Linked DNA regions of Homo sapiens: region 1 is linked to region 2. Evidence: promoter capture Hi-C in 16 types of primary human blood cells and fetal thymus (Javierre and others, 2016). All regions are on one chromosome and are shown on one strand. The core of a region is centred on a gene start or on the middle of the fragment in contact, and the rest is flanking DNA. Distances in the headings are between cores, read along the strand shown.

Region 1 (3,565 bases), core at 824-3,323, 1.6 Mb before region 2:
CGCTGCTAAGAACAATGGCTGCGAAAAGAACGAAGTCATCAGTCTTAAAATTACCGGGGGATTCCCTAATCCTTGTTGGAAGGGGAGGGGGCTAGACACAGGAAGAAATCCCCCCCGGGCAGCGGGACCCGGCCTCGCGCAGAGAGCTCCTGGAGCCTTCGGTGCACGCGTGTCCGTGGCCCCCGCGCAGTCCCGCCGCCCTCTCCTCCCCGGGCTCTCCCCGAAACGCCCCCACTGCCGCCCGCCCCATTGTCTGAAACGGTCTAAAAACTTCGCAACTTACCGAACCTGAGCAAATAAATAAATAAACCCATTTAATAAGGCCACGGTAATTATCCCGCGAATCTCCCTCTCCCAGACTCGAGGGCCTGGCGCCCTCCCGCTCCCTCGGGCCCCTTCCAAAGACAAAAAGCAACCCACTGGCCCTTTACCTTGCACACCAGCTCCTCTCCGCTGTGCAGATGCACGGCACGAAAAACGTGGTCTCCCTCCAGAGGTTCCAACAATAAGTATTTCCCGATACAAGAAACGCAATGCGACAAGTTCGGAGTCTCGGGCGGGCTCGGGGAGCCGAGGTTCGGGCTGAAACTCTGGCTGGGCTCCGCGGACCTTATAGACGACAACTCTTCGAAATCCTGGGTTTTGTTCCGCGATCTCCCATATCTCGCTATTGTGATGGGGGTAGACCTGTGTATGTTCATGAGTGTGAGGATCGCACACGACAAACAAAAAAAAACCCGCTGGAGAGATGAGTCGCTGGCGAGTGCGGCTGCAGGCGCCTCGGTGCCACTGATTTTAAAAGGGAGCGAGAGGGGAGGGGACAGAAGAGGGGCTGCGTGGAGAAAGAGTTAGAAGCCCCCAAATGGGCGCCGCCGGATACCTCGTCTGCTCCGAGCCCGGCTCCCGGGGGTCCTCGGTCGGCAGGCAACTCGGGTCTTTTTGTTACCCCAAAGCAGTCGGCGATGTGCAGAATCGCCGCACTTTTAGTTACTCTGTGTGTGTGTCCCCGGCGTGGATCTGGATGAGTACCCGGGCTGCTAAGGTGCGGAGCTGCAGCGCCAGGGCTCCCGACGCGACCCCCAGGCCGGCTTCCGAATCGCAGACGGGGCGGAGGAGCCCGCGGTAGTTTGTGCAGTCTTCGGGGAGCTCACGGCGGCGACTCAGTCCCAACGCGTTAGAAGCCAAACAAAAAGAGAAAGGAAACAAGCACGGGTCTACCGGCTGGCGACGCACGGCAGCCAGAATCCGCGCTGCACCCCCTTTTTTTGGTGGAAAGGGTGGGGGGCGTGTAAGGGGGGGGTGCGGGAGAGGGCAGTTACCTACGTTTTAACTGTAGATGGCGTCTGAGGCTTTTCCAAGATCGCGAGCTCTCCAAAAATTAAACAAACAAACAAAAAAAAGAAAAATTGCAAGGGAGCATTTAACTTGGTGCGGTCAGCGCTGCCAACAAAAGATTGCAAAAGCTGGGCACAGAGTTGCGGCGCGGGCTGGGCGCAGGTACCGCGACAAAGCCCTGGGCTCGGCCCGCCGCGCGGAGGTCAGCACAGGCTCATGCTGTCGCCGCTCGCTCGCGCCCCAGGTCTTCCTCCGAATGCAGCCAGACGTGCAGGAGAGAACGAGGACAGATCGGCGGTCTCCGATTTCGCCGGCACGAGCTTGCGGGGGTCCTGCGGGCGCTGCAAGGGGAGCTGCGTCCCTGGCCCTTCCAACGCGCGGCGTTCCTTTGCCCCTTTCCCGCTGGAGAACTGGATCTCGTCCTGGAATAATTTGCAATCACCCCGTCTCCCCCTACCCCGAGACCAAATTGCCCGGTGGGGTTTGTTTTGGAGAAAATTGACGGCTTGTCTCCTCCTTCTTTGATTTCTTGCTTGCCCCCCCCAGAGAAAAGAGGGGACCGTGTATTTAAAAATTAAAGGGGACGGCCGACGGTGCCCGAGGCCAATCCCCGCGCTCAGCACGCCCGCATCCCCCGGCGAGGCGGTATTAATAGTTACTTACGTGGCCGGGGATCTCGGAGCGAGCGGGGCCGTGAGTGCGCGTGTGCGCGCGCGCGCCTCGCTCGCGCTCGGTCTCCCCATTCAATGTCACCGACACATTTCCACGGAGCCTCCGCCCCCCCCCCGCCGCCCCCGCGACTGGCTCAGCCCAGAGCCGGCCCCGCCCCGCCCCCGCCCGGGCCCCCCTCATTGCGCCGGGCGCCCATCAATCAGCCCCGCCGCTGCCAGTCCTCGGGCGGCTCCCCGCGCCGCTGCCATTGCAGCTCCGTGCCGGGGGCGCCAGCACCGGCCTCGCAGCTCCCTCGCCCGGCCGGGGAGGTAAACAAAGTGAAATATCCTTCCGCGGCCCGGGGCCCCGGGCGCAGCACCCTGGGTGTCGGCTGCGAGCCGGCTGCGAGCCCAGCTGCGGGCGGCTGGGCCGGGGTTACCAGCAGCGACTCCCGAGCCGTTCCCCACACGCTGCTCCCGCAGCGCCCGCTCCAGCTCTTCGTAGCTCGTTCATGTTCCTGGCGCTTTTCCCCAGAAAGCCAGGCACGCTCTGAGCATTGGGCCCCCAGGCTCAGATGTGGCCCTGAATGAGGAGCTCTGTTTTGGAAGAATGCGCTTTCATCGGTATTGCTGCCTGGAGTTTCGAGAATTCGTTTCATGGTATCTCTCCGACATCCTCCTCTCCATTTAAAAGGAAATCCATTGCTTCCTTTTAGTTGGTGTCACCGCTTGCCCCCGATCCCCACATCCTGGGCTTGTATTTCTAGTGTTTTCAGCAGAAGAGGAACTGAAGGCATCTTTTGATTCAGGTCAAATTTAATCACTAATTCTTCCCTTCCCAGTGCATTGCCTGGAGGGCCTTGGAGGCCAAGCTAGACAAAACTTTGCACCCACACCTCCAGGGAGCGCTGTTGGGTCCTATCCAGGGTGCTGGGCGTCCTGAGTCCTCTTCTGTTAGCCAGGTGAAGGCTGCAGTTTCACGCCCCACTCCACCCCCCATTTCGCCACCCCCCCCGAATTATTCGTAACTTCCTTGGGAGATTCCAGTCCGCGGGCTTGGACAGGAACACCGGAAGCAAGGGGCTTGAACTCAGGCAGAGGCTTCAAACGCCAGCCTTGATCTAAGATATCCTGGTGAATGAGAAGCGATCTAGTAGAGGACAAACTTAAAAAAAAAAATCCCAAGGAACTGAGAAAGGGGAGTTGGGACGACTCCTGGAGCCCTCTGAGCTTTTGCATGCGTGTAGTATATTTTCCACTGGAGGAGGGGACTAAATTATTGTCCACTGTAGGACACTTTCAGTAAAAGAAGGGAGCTATTTATAATTATGTCCACTTGGGACAACAGTCACTCTAATGATCAGGAGTCCTGGGAATGTGGCCAGAGATGGAGAGGACATTGACTATAAAGCTTCCACCCAGCAGCACAGAGTTAAAAGGAAGGTTAAGAAGTGGACCCGTGCCTTCCAGCACCTCTCACCATCCTACTCCCCACAAACCTGCCTAGGATTCAGTCCCAGATCCCAGCAGAATAGATCTATTTCCCTAGGCGATCACCAGGACCACTGACCGAGCAGGGT
Region 2 (3,762 bases), core at 508-3,007:
ACTGTGAGCCAAATAAACCTCTTTATAAATTACCCAGCCTCAGGTGTTCCTTGACAGCAATGCAAAATGGACTAAGATATCCATTTTTGAGAATTTCTCCAAAAGAACTGAAATCACTCCCATGCCCATTGTAGCACTACACATAATAGTCAAATGTGGAAGCAACCTAAAAGTCCATTGACAAATGAATAAAGAAACTGCACACATATATACATTCACCCTTAAAATGGGAGGAAATTCTGCGATATGCAACAAGATGGATGAACCTGGAGGACAGGATACTAACAAAACAGACATGGAAAGTCAAATATTGCACAATTCCACTTCTATGAGGCACTGAAAATAGACTCCTGGAAGCAAAGACTAGAATGGTGGGTGCCAGAGGCTGGGAGGAGGGGGAATGGGGCGTTGCTAATCAACGGGTATGAAGTTTCAGTGGTGCAAGATGAATGCATCCTAGAATCTATCAGGCTGCTCACTTAAAAATGTAATCGAGATCATGCCATGTTCCCGCTTAAAATCCTGGATGGTGTCTCCTTTGGAAAAAATGCATCCAGACTTTTATAAGGGCTGGGGTGGCCCCCGCTGCTCCCCCTCATCCTGTGGCCTTCCTCACTCCCTGTGCCTCAGCTACACGAATTCTTTGTTTTGTTTTTTAGATACATCAAACTCTTGGCTCCTTCTCCTATTTCATGTCTCAGCTTAAATGTCTCCTCCTCAGAGAGGCCTTCAGCCGGCTCTGCCCCCGACCCTGAACTGTTTCCTTCTTACCGCTGGTCACACTTCATACAGATTTGTACTTGTTTGCTTCTCTGCTTGCTTTTTGGCTGCCCTGTCCTGAGTATGAAGGCTCGGTGGAGCCATGGCCAGGTCTGTCTAGTCCCTTGTTGCAGTCTGGTCTCGTTTCAGAGCGGCTCATGGGTATTTTTGGTTGAATGAATGCATGAAGGAGCATCCTTTCCCCGAGTCAGGTCAGACAGCCAGCTCCTCTAACCCAGACTAGGCCAGCAGGCTCCAGCTCAAGGGATTACCGGCCGCGTCGCAGTCGGAATGAACGAGGTGGGGCTGCTCTGACCCAGCGGCATCTGGTCTTGGCTTCCATCTTCCTCGCTTCTTAGGCTCAGGCTCGGGTCTGGCTCTGGGCTGGGCTGGTGACCCACCTTCCCCCGGGCATGCCATGCCCTCTGTCCCTCAGCCAGATCATTTGCCCTCCCATCTCCCTTTCTCCAAAACCTTCCCCAACTTGCAGTCAGGCTGCGGAGTCAGGGTGGAAAAGGGAGGGCAGGTACTCACCAGCGCTGCTGGCCCCGCCGCTCGGCCTCCAGGAGCTCCCGCCACAGCTGGTCCTGCTGCACGCCATCGCAGGCAGCTCCCTGAGCCACCCGCTGCGCCTTCAGAGCCTGGGGGGCCTGGCAGCCACCAGCAAGACCCCTGCTGGCCATAGGGCCACCCCGGGCAGCTGGGGAGACCGAGGCTGGTGGCCTGGTGGGGGGCAATCGGTACCCAGCTGATGTGGTTCTCTGGAGCCCAGGGGTGGGGTGGCTCCCCATGGTGCAAGTGTGTGTGTGTGTGTGCGCTTGTGTCAGAGAGAGAGAGAGAGAGACCTGTGCCTGAGCTCAGCTCAAACCTCCTCCTGGAACACTCTGTCCCTCCTAACCCCGGGAGAGCCTGGGCAGGGTCCTCCTCACTGTCCCTTTAGGCCTCGAGCTCAGAGTGGCCGATGGGGACAGGGCTCTCCGGGCTGGGGAGAGCATTTGAGCCCAGTTTCGTTTTGAACTCCCGCCTGTGCTGTGTTGACTGTTGTCCTGGGAACGGACAGCTCCTAGGAAAGGGGCGGGCCCCGTGTGTGTGTGTGTGTGTGTGTGTGTGTGTGTGTGTGTGTGTGTGATCTGAGCCCTAGGGCTGGGGGGCAGAGAGTTCCTGACTAGATGCCACGCCCAGTTCAGCAGCCCCCTACCCCAAGGCCGGAGTCCTCCGCACAGGGTGGGGGAGGGGGAGGGAGCAAAGCTGGGGCTCCTGGGGGCCACCCCCACCATTATTGCACTTGCTTCCGGCAGCCCGTCAGGCCGTGGGGCGATGTTAGTCCTGTGCTGCCCCCTCGTGGATGCTGCGAGGCTCGCAAGAAATGGTGGCCCTGAGGGCGCTTTGGGAATTGTGGATCAGGCATCAGTGTGAAGCTTCCTGCTTGTTTGGGAACGATGGCGGAAGTCATGAGCTTATGTTGGGCGAGGAAAATGAGTGCAATGCACTAGGAACATCCACTCTGTCTGCAAACCCAGAGCGTTCACACAGCACTCTGCTTTATCTGAGACCTCCCAGCCATGCCTTTCCAACGCCATTCTACAGATGAGGAAACTGAGGCCCTTACCGGCAAGATTAAGTGACCGCCCACGGTCACACAGTCAGTCACCAGCTGAAAGGAACAGTGAGAATCTGAGGGCTTATGGTCCGAGCCCTCAGCCCTGTTTCTGCTCTAACTGGGTACAACCAGGCTCCCTCCGTGGCAGCCTCTCCTGGTCTGGCTCAGCTGAGCTCCATGGACGCCCGCTGCTCTCATCACTTCTGCCTCCTGCACTCTCTGCTTCCGGTTCTCTGAGTTTTGTGCTGTTCCGGTAGGTGCTGGCAGATTCACAGTTCCTTCCACGCAGCTTCTCTGTGGGTCCATTCAGCTGGCGCGCTGCTTCCTATCTTTGTAAGGGAAGAGCTAAGTGCAGACAAAGCCCTGACGAATAGAGGCCTGCGCAGAGTGCCCGGGGTGCAGGGCAGCAGGGCAGCCAGTGAACCACTGAGCTCGCACTGTAGCCAGTCCTGTGTGCCCCTGCTGGATTCTGCTTCTATGAGGGAGGCAGCAAGGAGTTGGGACTTCACAGGTGAAAGGACTTGCCAGGTAGAAAAACTGGGGTGACCACAAAAGCTTGGATGCAAGAGAGAGCCTGGTATTTTGGGAGATGTGGGGGAGGAGACAAGGACGGGGGTGGCAGGGCACATGGGGGCAGGCCCCGGGGTATTTTCCACGGTATCCTGCACCCAGTGGGGAGATACCGATGGGCTGTGAGCCCCAAGGGAGCTGCAGGGAACAGAACCATCAGGACAGGGGCAAAAAACAGGTGAGGTCACCATTGCCATGGCGTGGTGTGGGTGAGCAGTGGCAACGAAGCCCCTACTGGGCTCGGGCGGAGGGCTGGCGTGGAGAAGACAGGGCTGAGAGCCAGGCCAGAAAGAGCTGCCAGCTTCGTCTTCCCACACTTGCATGAGGACGGAGCTGAGGGATGGGACCTTTTGGAAAAACATTAGTCTAAAATCAGAGCTGCAGGCCTGGGACTCTGTCTCTCCTCTGTTCCTCCCCTTGGAGCTGGGATGACACAGGGTGGCATCTAGTGACTTAAATTTTCCTGGTAAAGATGAGCACAGCAGGAGTGCGGCGGGGTGGGCCTCTGTGAGCTAGGACCCTGGGTCAGGCTTTTCTGAGTGCTGTTTTCGTGGAGGTGTCTGTGCTCCCTGCACTGCGACGACAGGTTCCTGCCATGCCCAAGGAGCAGCGGTTCTGGCTTCCCTGAACCCCCAGAAGGCATCCCGTGAGTGTCTTTAGAGAGGACGGTGTGTCCTGGGGGGTCCTTGCTGTGTGTCCTGGGAGGCTTTGTCAGGCTGACCGCAGGCTGTGGCCCTGAGCAGCTGGGAACAGCCATGCAGTTTGCTCAGATACCTCCAGCCCTGGCCACAGGCTCCAGACACAGGGACCAGGGCAAAAAAGGCCAGCAAGGG

Evidence for each region. The method cuts DNA at HindIII sites, captures the fragments that hold promoters and counts their contacts. A CHiCAGO score of 5 or more calls a contact.
Region 1: a contact is called between the fragment with the promoter of TRIB2 here and the fragment with the promoter of CIMIP5 in region 2, in 2 of 17 cell types (fetal thymus and neutrophils). The highest score is 12.3, in fetal thymus.

The regions. Positions count from the first base shown.
Region 1 is chr2:12,715,444-12,719,008 of GRCh38, reverse strand. TRIB2 (tribbles pseudokinase 2) reads right to left here and starts at 2,073. Exons shown (of 3, transcript NM_021643.4): 1 at 432-2,073. The coding sequence starts at 701. LOC124905974 (a long non-coding RNA gene) reads left to right here and starts at 2,251. Exons shown (of 2, transcript XR_007086222.1): 1 at 2,251-3,565. RefSeq lists enhancers at 1-244, 1,606-1,675, 1,524-2,163 and silencers at 2,116-2,175, 2,266-2,485. The HindIII fragment of the contact is 5,863 bases long and covers 1-3,398 here.
Region 2 is chr2:11,131,123-11,134,884 of GRCh38, reverse strand. It overlaps CIMIP5 (ciliary microtubule inner protein 5), which reads right to left and starts at 1,757. Exons shown (of 3, transcript NM_001371321.1): 1 at 1,294-1,757. The coding sequence starts at 1,550. It overlaps FLJ33534 (Putative uncharacterized protein FLJ33534), which reads left to right and starts at 2,709. Exons shown (of 9, transcript NR_040080.1): 1 at 2,709-2,870. The HindIII fragment of the contact is 3,513 bases long and covers 1-2,179 here.